2 separate regions of the Homo sapiens genome follow, and region 2 is linked to region 1. The links are contacts of gene promoters, found by promoter capture Hi-C in human tissues and cell types (Jung and others, 2019). All regions are on one chromosome and are shown on one strand. Each heading gives the region's core, a stretch centred on a gene start or on the middle of the fragment in contact. The rest is flanking DNA. Distances are from core to core; before and after follow the strand shown. Region 1 holds the start of BOC (BOC cell adhesion associated, oncogene regulated). Region 2 overlaps CCDC80 (coiled-coil domain containing 80).

Evidence for each region. The method cuts DNA at HindIII sites, captures the fragments that hold promoters and counts their contacts. A contact is called where the count stands out against the background at its distance.
Region 2: a fragment that was not itself captured here is called in contact with the fragment with the promoter of BOC in region 1 in 1 of the 25 tissues and cell types used here (lymphoblastoid cells).

The regions. Positions count from the first base shown.
Region 1 is chr3:113,208,749-113,214,539 of GRCh38, reverse strand. BOC (BOC cell adhesion associated, oncogene regulated) reads right to left here and starts at 2,983. Exons shown (of 20, transcript NM_001378074.1): 1 at 2,524-2,983. It overlaps LOC124909486, which reads left to right. Exons shown (of 2, transcript XM_047449436.1): 2 at 2,260-5,791. The coding sequence ends at 2,985. RefSeq lists an enhancer at 1,971-2,622. The HindIII fragment of the contact is 6,739 bases long and covers 2,572-5,791 here.
Region 2 is chr3:112,633,117-112,638,400 of GRCh38, reverse strand. It overlaps CCDC80 (coiled-coil domain containing 80), which reads left to right. Exons shown (of 8, transcript NM_199511.3): 2 at 1-373. Among named protein-coding and RNA genes, the nearest start is that of CCDC80, 5.4 kb to the left of the region's middle. The HindIII fragment of the contact is 3,547 bases long and covers 2,032-5,284 here.

The DNA of each region.
Region 1 (5,791 bases), core at 1,734-4,233:
CTGAGTTTTCTGTTGTAGTTTGAAAGACACAGAGATAAACCCTAATTCATTACCCACATCAGTGGCTTTGCCGAAATTTGAACCCAGACCCCCTAGGGGACACGGAACACTATGACACATCAGGCTCACTTCTTGCTCTCCTTTTTCAAACCGTGGGGGGTCCATGTGAAAGTCAACTGAATTATTTCATGGGTAAAATCTCTTATTCATTCTTAGGGCATGGAAACCATGTTGTTGAAGAGAGCCGGGATCCCAAACACTTGAAAAAGCACTTCAAAAAAAGGGAAAATCTCTGGACCCATTTGGAGGGTGGAAAGGAACATAAATCACACAGCTTACCAAGAGTTGGCTCACCAATTAACAGCTAAGCAGAGTCCTCTCTATTTTTTCCCCACACCCTCCCTCTCCAGTTGTAGTCAAAGAATCAACCATTCTGGCTTCTAGCAACCTCTTTTCCCAAGTAAAGCCAGTGGCCTATGGCGTGGGGGACAACTGCTCCCTAGCGAATGTCTCTTGCAGTGAAGCATTTCTGAAGTATCTCGATAGAGGATAAAAGAGACAGTGTCTGAGGTCTCAATCCTCAGGCTTCATAAATGTGTAGACACCCTCCAGCCTCCTCAAGGCCCAAATTCTGAGTGACAAATCTATACAGGGGAGGACAGTGTCAGCAAAGTGGCCCAATGAGGCAACTCTTCTTTCTTTCATTTTACCTCTTTGCATAAACTCATTTGAAAAACTCATAGCAGGAAAATAATAACTCTACTGCTGTTTCTGCCCGGCCTCTGTCCCACTGACCCCAAGGTGCTTTCAGATCACCACGAGAAGCTTCTGGGTCTCAATTATGAGACCATTAAAAAGTACCAATTATAAGACCTCAGAAATGTTTCTGGGAAACCTGTTACACACCTCAAAATGGCTAACCTCTTGCCTCAGATTTACTTTAAGTTCAGAAAACAGGTCACCCAGATGTATGGGCATCCTAGCCCCCACAAGCAGCCCAAGACTGTGGTTTAATATTTTCCATGCTGCCCTTAAGAAAACGAAGATTGATTTATTGGCTGTAACCAAAGGGATGAAAAAAACCATCACAGAGCTGGGCTGCCTGTTTAAGACCCAGTCGTGGAATAAATCAGAAATGTCTGCACACTGAAGTTTTAAAATGACATTCATCCAATGGTCAATGTGTACCGAGTTCTGGACAACAAAGAACTAGGTGACAAATGTGTGCTGGGCACAGTGCATCTGCAGGTGGCACAAGGGCCTGAAATCAAAATATAATCTTCACTCAGTCCACTCAAAGAGGTAACTCTGGGTCAAAAACTTAGGCGAACCCATTTGAACTTGCAGAGAAGGGATGAGGGGAGCAGCAGAACACCCCACCACACCCAAAAAGTGCCAGTTTGGGATTGCTGGTGTGTGGTTTCGGTATTCTTAGCTCTACTGCCACATCTCTGGAGGAGCACAACTCTGTTCCAAGCAACTCTGGCACTGCCACCCCCATCCCCAAAACAAAACTCTGCCAAACAAATCCCCGAGGCTCCATTAACTCCTTCAGGTCTGCCTGCCTCTCTCATCCCTCAGCATTCTCCCATCACCTGGAAAAGCAAATTAATACTGAACATCCTGAAAGTCAAGCAGGCCCTTCAACACCCCCATGAAAATTCTTCCTGGGTTCCCTGCCCTCCCCACAGCCCCGTCCCACTGGTTCCAGAGATTCATTTCCCACACCTTCTCACAGTTACATCAACAAAAACCCCAGGAGGACGCTGCTGGCGCGAACACGCACACACGCGCGCGCACACACGTACACGCACACACGAACTCTCTCTCTCACACACACACACACCTCTTTCACCTTTGCCCCAGCCCCTCAGACACCTCGGGCCACTCGGCTTCAGCCTCGCCCCTCTGCGCCAACAGCTAGGGATGCTTCCCTCAAGCTGCGTCGCTCCCGGTCCGCTGAGTTCCTCATTTTAGTGTTTTTCCTTTAGAAGACGCCAACTATGAGAAACCCTCACCCTCCAAAGAGGCCGAGTGCGTGTTGAGTGACTCTACGCATTTGCCGCCACGCCTCGGGTTCCCCCCACGGCCTGGAGCATGGGGCCGGGGCGCTGGTGTCAACCTTCGGTGGAAGTTTGGGAGGCTGGCTGGATCCTTCTTCCACCCGAGAAGCTTCTGGGAACCGCTGAGGCGAAACCACCATCGCCCGGCCAGACCGCTGCGGCAGGGAACGAGATGCGGCGCCCCTGGGCCCCGTAGCGGCTGCAGCCCCCGGGACCCCCGCTGCCCGCCTCGCCCCAACTTCTTCGCCCGGCGCCCGGCGCGCCCAGCCTCGGCCGCAGCTCCCAGCCCCGGGCGCCCGGCCGAGCGCTGGGACCCGGCTCCCGCCGCCGGCACGTCCCCCGGCAGCCACTCGCTGGCGCTGCCTCGGCCTGCGGCCGCCTCCCGCCCCCTCCTCTCCCCGAACCAACAGTAAACACAACTTTTTATGAAAAGAAAACAAACTTCAGCGACGTGACTCACCTCTGCTGCAGCCGGCGCCTGGGAAGGGCGAGCCGGGGCCCGGGGGCCAGCGTGGTGGGCGCGAGGGAGCCACACAGCGCCGCGCCGCACGGACACACAACACGCTCGGTGACACCGGGGACACACAACACGGGCGAGCGGCCGCGGCTGGAGCAACAAAGGAGCCGAGGACCGAGAAGTTGCGGGCCGGAGAGGGAGGGCGCGTGCGGGCGTGTTGTGGCTGTGGCGGGCGTGAGGGTGTGCGCGCCGTGTGTGCGCGTGTGTGTCTTTTCTGTGTGTGTTTGTGTGTCTCTGTGTGTGTGTCTGTGCGCGCGCGCGGCGGCTGACACCGGCGGGCCGGGGCTCAGGGTCCCCGCGGCAGAAAGCGGCGGCCGCGGGGGCGGCAGCAGGAGGACAACGCAGGGGACGCCGCGCCCAGCGCACCCGGTCCCTCCATATGGAAGAAGCTTTTTGGATGACTGAACTCGCAAACAATTCCTTCTTTTGCTTCTCCTGCCTAGGAGCCTCCCATTACCGTGCGAGGAGGAGGAGGAGGAGGGAGTGGAGGAGGCTGGGAGGAGGGGGAGGAGCAAAATGGAGCAAAGAAAAAGTCTTGGAAAGGAAGCTGGAAAAAGTCCCCCAAACTCTAGGGCAGTTTTCCCGTTAACACCCACTTTTTGCTGTGCCTCAGACCCGCGCTCTCCTCCAACTTCTTTTGCTTTCCCATACCAAAAGCACCATCTTCTCCCTTTTCCCCGAACCCAGGGGGCTCCCCTGAAGCCTTCACTTTCTCTTTAGCTTCACCTCGCACCCTTGCTCTTCCATGTACAATCCTTCCCTCCTTTCGCCTAGTCTCTTCCAAGACTTTCCTGACACCCACCTCTCAATGGTCTTCTTCTTCTGCAAGACAAACTGTTGGATAAATCATTAAAAGCAAACTCATCAGAAAATGGGACAGCGGCGGTGGAGAAAATGATAAGGAAACCAATCTCAGGGAAGCCTTAACGCAGCCTCCCCCGACCCCCTCGGTCGGTTGGGGAGGGTTTGCCGCGTCGTCCATTGACAGCGCCCTGACCTCCATTCATCATCCCAGGATGGAGCCAGGGAGGAATGGGGAGGGAGAGCTGGGGCTGGGGTTGGGGGCATGGGTTGGGGGTGCTAGTGGCCACGGAAAAGTTAGTTACCTATGCGTGTGTATGTGTACGCGCACGCGCGCGTGTGTGTTGGTCAGAAAACTTTCAGAGCTGTGGTTCTCAAACTTGATCTGCAGCAGGACTCCCTGGAAGGCTTGCTAAATCCCTTTGCTGGGCCCCACCTCCAGAGTTTCTGATTCAGTAGGTGGACCTGGGAATTTGCATTTCAAATAGGTTCCCAGGTGATGCTGATGCTGCAGGTCAGGGGCCACGTTTTAAAAACTACCTTTCCAGGGCAGTGAGAAGGCAAATGTTGAGTTGGTGGCAAATTGGATTCCCTTCTTATTTTTTAGGAATGAAGCACAGGTTGTGAGCGGTCATCCATTCCGTATCTTCATTGCAGCTGAGAAAACCAAGTCCCAGCAGGGCTAAGCCATTTGTTTAAAGTGAACTGGGAGTTTGTGCCAAGCTGGTGAGGAAGCTGTCCTGGAAATAAGACAGCCAGGCTAGTAGTAGGGTGAATGGGGGTGCTGCCTTCCCTGTGTGGCTGGACAGCTGCACTGGGAGTCAGGAAGCCACTGTGACTTTGGAAAGTCACTTAACTTTTCTGGGCCTCTGGGGGTTTTGTGTGTGTGTGTGTGTGTGTGTGTGTGTGTGTGTGTGTGTGTGTGTGTGTTTGTTTGTTTGTTTGTTTTTTGACAGAGTCTCACTCTGTCGCCCAGGCTAGAGTGTAGTGGTGCAATCTCGGCTCACTGCAAAGTCTGCCTCCTGAATTCGAGAGATTCTCCAGTGTCAGCCTCCCAAGCAGCTGGGATTACAAGCACCTGCCACCATGCGCGGCTAATTTTTGTATTTTTAGTAGAGACGGAGTTTCACCATGTTGTCCAGGCTGGTCTTGAACACCTAGCCTCAAGTGATCTGCCCACCTTGGCCTCCCAAAGTGCTAAAATTACAGGCGTGAGCCACCTCACCCGGCCCTGTTTTGTTTTTTATTAACTTGTTTCTTGTCAGTAAACATACATACTTTACACTGAGTATAGGACTCTAATTGAATCTGAACCAAAAGACCTTTACAAAGGAAACATAAATGTATTTTATTCCATATTTTGCACTATTTTTTCTCCGGTATTTAGTCATTCAGGCAGAAGCCAATTTCCTTTTTGATTTATCGAGTACTTTCAGCTCTGTGCCTGGATTCTTAGGCATGTTCCTCTGGCAAAATGGATCTGGAGGATGATGCATTTTCAGCAAGAAGGTGAAAAGGACTCTGAACTCTCTCTGTGCATTATCCACCTACATTTCCTTTTCCTACTTAATCATCCTAATTTTCCTTCCCTTTTAATCTCTAACAATCTCCCCCAACATTCTCAAAGACCTATTTTTCTTTCCAGTCATTGACTATATTAGCTTCCACTTTCTTTTGTCCTCCTTCCAAGGCACAATTCTGGACTACAAGGCCTGGGGTCCACCCTGGGTACAGAACTTTTAATTCCCCCAAGGGAATGGGTCAACCAGCTTCCTCTGCAGTGATAACACTCCTTCTCCCCAGGGACCCAAGCAGCGTATCCAGCCTTCTGTTTTTCAAAGATGATTCCAAGTACCGCTCAATGAGAACGTGATGCATGAAGGTCTCAGATTCATTCTTTTATATTCCTGTATATACTATTCGTTGCTTGACATCTCAAAGATATCTTCTACCCCTTCTGTCATCTTTCTCCTAGGACTCTCCATTCTCTTACTCTGGTCTTTGGGTCCACACAGCCCTAGGCTCTGAGTTAAGCATCAGAACACAACAGAACACAAAGAATGTAACAGTCCCTACCAGCACCATTTAGTCAGGAGAATGACACACTGCCTTGTTCCTTCATGCATGCAGGCTGCTCACCTTTCTTTCTTTCCTTTTTTTTTTAAGATGGAGTCTGGCTCTCTCACCCAGGCTGGAGTGCGGTGGCATGATCTCAGCTCACTGCAACCTCCACCTCCCCGATTCAAGCGATTCTCCCTGCCTCAGCCTCCCGTGTAGCTGGGATTACAGGTGCCTGCCACCACGCCAGGCTAATTTTTTTTTTTTAAGTAGAGACGGGGTTTCACCATGTTGGACAGGCTGGTCTCGAACTCCTGACCTCAGGTGATCAGCCCGCCTCAGCCTCCCAAAG
Region 2 (5,284 bases), core at 2,556-5,055, 580 kb after region 1:
TAGTAATGAGTATGAGGAGAAGTATGACCTCAGCCGGCCTACTGCCTCTCAGCTGGAGGACGAGCTGCAGGTGGGGAATGTTCCCCTTAAAAAAGCAAAGGAGTCTAAAAAGCATGAAAAGCTTGAGAAACCAGAGAAGGAGAAGAAAAAAAAGATGAAGAATGAGAACGCAGACAAGTTACTTAAGAGTGAAAAGCAAATGAAGAAGTCTGAGAAAAAGAGCAAGCAAGAGAAAGAGAAGAGCAAGAAGAAAAAAGGAGGTAAAACAGAACAGGATGGCTATCAGAAACCCACCAACAAACACTTCACGCAGAGTCCCAAGAAGTCAGTGGCCGACCTGCTGGGGTCCTTTGAAGGCAAACGAAGACTCCTTGTAAGTAGCCTTCTCCTTGGCATTCTTCTATGGGCTGAGGCAGGGCATGTTAACGTCTGTCTTGTTAGTTTTGTAAAAATCATATTGCTAGATGCCAGACTGTGACTGAACCTGTACTGTGTCAAGAAGCTCAGAAGTCTGGCAAAAGAGGGCAGCAGGCCAGTAGCTCCTTCTGGTTTAGTGACCTATGAAGTTCTGCTCACACAACTCATGGCCCTGTGGTACAAAGTCAGTGGCTGGGGACCCTACACATGAGCCCAGGAGAGCACCTGTAGTCAGCTTCCTCTAGACCTGTAGGGACCCTTCCCCCATTTCTACCACTCTCTTCCAAGGGATATTTCTGGACAAAGCTCTCTTTTACCAAGTCCAAAGGATGAAAAGAAAGATGAAATTCCTAAAAGGGAGTGCATTGACTTCAGTTACATCTTAGTAAAAGGGTTTCTCTCTGTCTGACTTAGGAACTAGAATCATGTCTATGGGACAATAGCAGAGGTCCCCTCTTTCACTAATTAGCTCTATATCAACATTGGAGTGCTCCAAGAGGAAAGTAAGACAGCCTGGGTGGGGAGTGGGTATGACTGAGAGTAGAGAAGAGTCCTTGTTGGTATGACCCTCACGGATCCTTTTAAAATGAGCTAGCAGAAATCTTCTCCCCTTAAAGCCTACCTCTCCCATTTCTATCCAGCTACTAGGAAGAGCCAAAGAGTGGAATGTGGGGAACTGGGTTAATTGCTTCAATTTCCGGTACTCTAGAGATACACCTGAATTTAAAATCTAGATGTCAGTTTCTCCGGGGGCTCTGTAAAATGTGTATGTGCATGTGCCTGTGCATCAGTGTGTGAAAAAGGAGACAAGCTGTCCCTACTTGCCCTTGGTCTGCAGTTCTTTGTGCCACTCGTGTTGAGTAAGGCACAGATTCATCTCAGCAACTCTCTGTTTTGGCCATCACTTGCCACCACCAAATGAGGGCTTCGGGCAGGAGTGAGCCAAATATAAGGGCAGTTTTTATCAGTGATGTGCAAATGGCTCCTTCTCCTCTTCTTGTCTTCTCTTTCCCTCTTTTACTGCCCCTCCAAAATTTCCACCCCTGGATCTTAAGACTAGCTTTTTACTCCAGGCTGTCAAGGAGGAAAAGGATATTGTTACCATTAATTCTGAGTAAAAGATCAATAAATTGATGTTGGGTAATGTGAGTCAGGAATGATTTTCTCAGATGCCTGGGTGAGAGAATCAACTCATGCCATTGAGGGCAGCACCCATCCTCTTGAAGGCACAAGGTAACTGCACACCCTGCATTTCCCCCACCAAAAGAGACAGACACTCTTTTCTCAAGGCATTTTTTAGAGGATCTTTTAGGTTTTCCAAGCTAGCCTAAATTTCGGTTAATAATCTGGGCAGAGGAACTCTGGTGCCCATTTATCGTGTGTTGTTTCAGAAAGTTTAAATGTGCATTTGAAATATTACTCAGAGCAAAGTTCTTTGTGATGTTTATCATGAGTGGGACATATCCCAAATTTTCTTAGCTGTTTACATTGATAGTAGGTCTGTGTATTAGAGTAAAACCTAGCTCTGGTTGATTCTAAGGATTTGTGTGTATGTCTGTGTGTGTTTTGTTATATATTTTCTGTATATTGGTGGAATATCTAACCAGAGCCTTAATGTGTCTATATAAACTTGGGTTATCAGGTCGCTTGGATATTCTCAGAGTACATATATTTAAATGGGAATGTTCCCATTAGAACAAAAAAGAAATCAGATTTCAGAGTAAAACTCTACCTGATACTTGAATGTCTGTTAGGGAGCCTGTGGGGGCAAACTGCTCTCTCTGGGGCATGGGAAAGAATTAGTGGTTTGCTCCAGTGCTCTCCTCCTGAGTACCTACAACTTTGTCCAGCCCACTAAAGTACATCACCCAACTCTGTTCATTTAGCCAACAGGGCAGGCAAAATGTTCCTCATGGTCAGGTTTTAAAAACAAAATCATGGGTAAAATGTCAGGATTGTAATTGTGCACCCTTCTGGCAAATATTTCCCATTGCCGCTAGTTTGTGAGTCAAAAAAGGGGGTTTTCACAGTGTATCCCTGATATTAGTCATACTTTTCATTTCTCCCTCCTTCTCCCCACTCCCTTAGTGGGAGATGTGAAAGCCCAGCTGGGCCAATCCTGCTTTTAACAGTATCCCTGCTTATAAATTTCTAGCAAATGAAACTCAAATGACAGCTTCTGCTGATGTCATGTGAGGCAAAACAGAAACCAGCTGGAATTGCTCCTGGCAGTGTTGGTTCTTTGGCCTAGTGAGAGAACCAGGTTTGTTATTAGAAACAAAATACTAACAGAAGGCTTTTCAGACTTTTGATCCTATGTGCGCCCAACTGATGATCATATCAGAAATGTGTCTTCTGCAGAGCTAATGATATCTAAAGTAAGAATGTATTAGAAAAGACCAAATGAAATAGACATGATACCAAAGCAAAAGATGGAGAGAAAAGAATTTTTCGCCAGAGAGGAGACCAATGGGTGAAAAACATTGTTGGTGCTGTTTAGCCTTTTCCACTCACTTTTCCCATCAAACTTGGCTAATGTTACTCAGGAAGCTCAGTGATTCAATTACTATTCATTAAGGCTTAGTGCTCTCAAGCTGTTTAAGTATGGCTGAGAACAACTACCTCCAACTGGCCTTAACTTAACCCAGTATACTCAGACTGAAAGCAGGTTTACATTCCAAGAAATTGTGCAGGACTTTCAGCTCATCTTCTCAGCTTTTCAGTAACCTGGTACTTAACTGCCATTTATTGTAAACCCTTAGTGCTTTGTCTTTATTTATAGCATTCTTTAGATGTGGACGTATCACATAACTGCTACTTAACAATTACAGAAACACTAACAGCAATGATGTGGGTTACAGGCTGATGGCTTCCTATAGGCCTTCACAGGAGCTGCAGGTGGAGCCAGGTGTCCTATTTTTAGATTAGTGTTCACTCTTTCAAACCTCCTGCCTCTAAACCTGTTGACGAAGAAGGGCACATCCTGCAAGGTACTTTGCCAAGACTGTGTGGTTTAATTCTCAAAACAATCCCTCAAGGAATGATTTATTTACCCCTTTCTACACATGAGAAAACAGAACCTGAAGTTACCCAAGATATATAGCTAATATGTGGTGAAGTCGGAATTAGAATTCAGATCTGTTTGAGTTGAAAACTCAAATTCAGGCCAATCTCCCTTTCTGAATTCTTTTGGGTATGAACTTCCTGTGGGATATGCCATAAAGTGAAGGGGAAACTGAGGAATGATCTTGCCAGTTAATAAACATGAATTTAAAAAATTAATACATATGAATACAAATACATTTAAAAATTCATTGTCAACCTTGAGTCACCCAGATAAGTGGTAAATGATTGCTAAGCACAAATGTGGAGTTTCTGCCTTTAATACGCAGCTAGTCCTCTGCACTCAATTCTCTGGCTTTCCAAACAGTCAGTCAAAAACAATAGATTGGATTCCAGTTAACCTAATTCTTCAGTCTGCTTGGTGTCAGTTTGAGGTTGACGATAGTGAGACTATAGGTAAGCTTATCACCAAAACATTGTACTATGGGGAGTATAGCTGAGAAGCCATCATTCTGCGCTCTGAGATCTAGTCACTTGTCAATTAACAAGGGACCTCAAATGCTGAATTCAATGAATTCAAGTGCAAATTTAAGAATTCTTTGGTGACTGAATCTCCTGTAATTCAAGTGGGTTCATATTTCCAACTTTACTTCAGACATCTGTGTATTAGGACAACCATCTACTTATTTGGTTTAATTTTAGGAAAGAATTTAAGGTTTCCTGCTGTACTAAGGCAGACTATTAGCTTGAAAGTTATTTTTCAGAATCCTGTAAAAAAAAATCTAGCATTTTGAGCCTAACGCAGTATTTTGAATAATCTGAGACTTAAAGTGTCTTCCCTCTAGCTTTTTTCCATTGCTCTTTGCTCTCTTTACTTATGCAAACAGGCTTCCTTATCCTCTGAGGCTCATTGAGCCAACACACCAGTTGGAACAGAAGCCATGAAAAAGAAATACAACACAGGTCTAAATTCATGATACATGCCCTGATTTATTGCCATCAAACTGGAAAGAGGCCAAGTGACAGAAAATAGTGTTTACTGAGGAGCTTTAAGCTGCTCTTTTTAGGAAGAGGGGACTGGAAATGGTTCTCATTTTAAACACTGTCTGAAATACAGCCCAACTAGAAAGTGAATGGGATGGAGATGTCAAAACATAGGGAAAGAGTCCCTGAAATGGGTTCAGATGGTCAGTCTTCTCTATTTTCTCTGTTGCAAACTTGAGGAGCAGATTAAATGTAAGGGAGAGTGTTTTCACCAACTGGTAAAGTCGTAGCCTGCATCTAGACATTCACAACAACCAGGGGACCCCTTTATTCCTGAGTCCCTCTCCTCTCCTCTGACTAGGGTGATCTATATAACCGGAGGAGTGTTGGCCAGCATTTATGCCCCCACCATCTGCAGGACAGTAATAGAGTCTGAGGAACTTACATTCTGCCTGGGGAGATGTGACAGTTATATAGTAAATGAAGGAAATGCTTAAATTCCAAGTGGGCGAGGCAGACAAAAAGAACAGTAATTAAAAGGAGGAAGTGATCCCTGCATGCTAGAAAAGACTTTAAGGAGGATAATGCATTGAAAGAAAGAATGAGATTTAGAGAAGGGCGGGGGCAGGTTTCTGAGGTAGAAGGAGTGACTTGGGCAAAGACAGAGGAAGGATTGTGGGTGAATTATTCAGAGGTGACATACCTGTATGTGCTTGGGGGACACATATTTATTTATTAAGAATAAATCAATCTGTAATAAGTTCATGTTATGATCTTATAAAGATATACAGATATATTTACTTTTGCTCAGATCTCACAA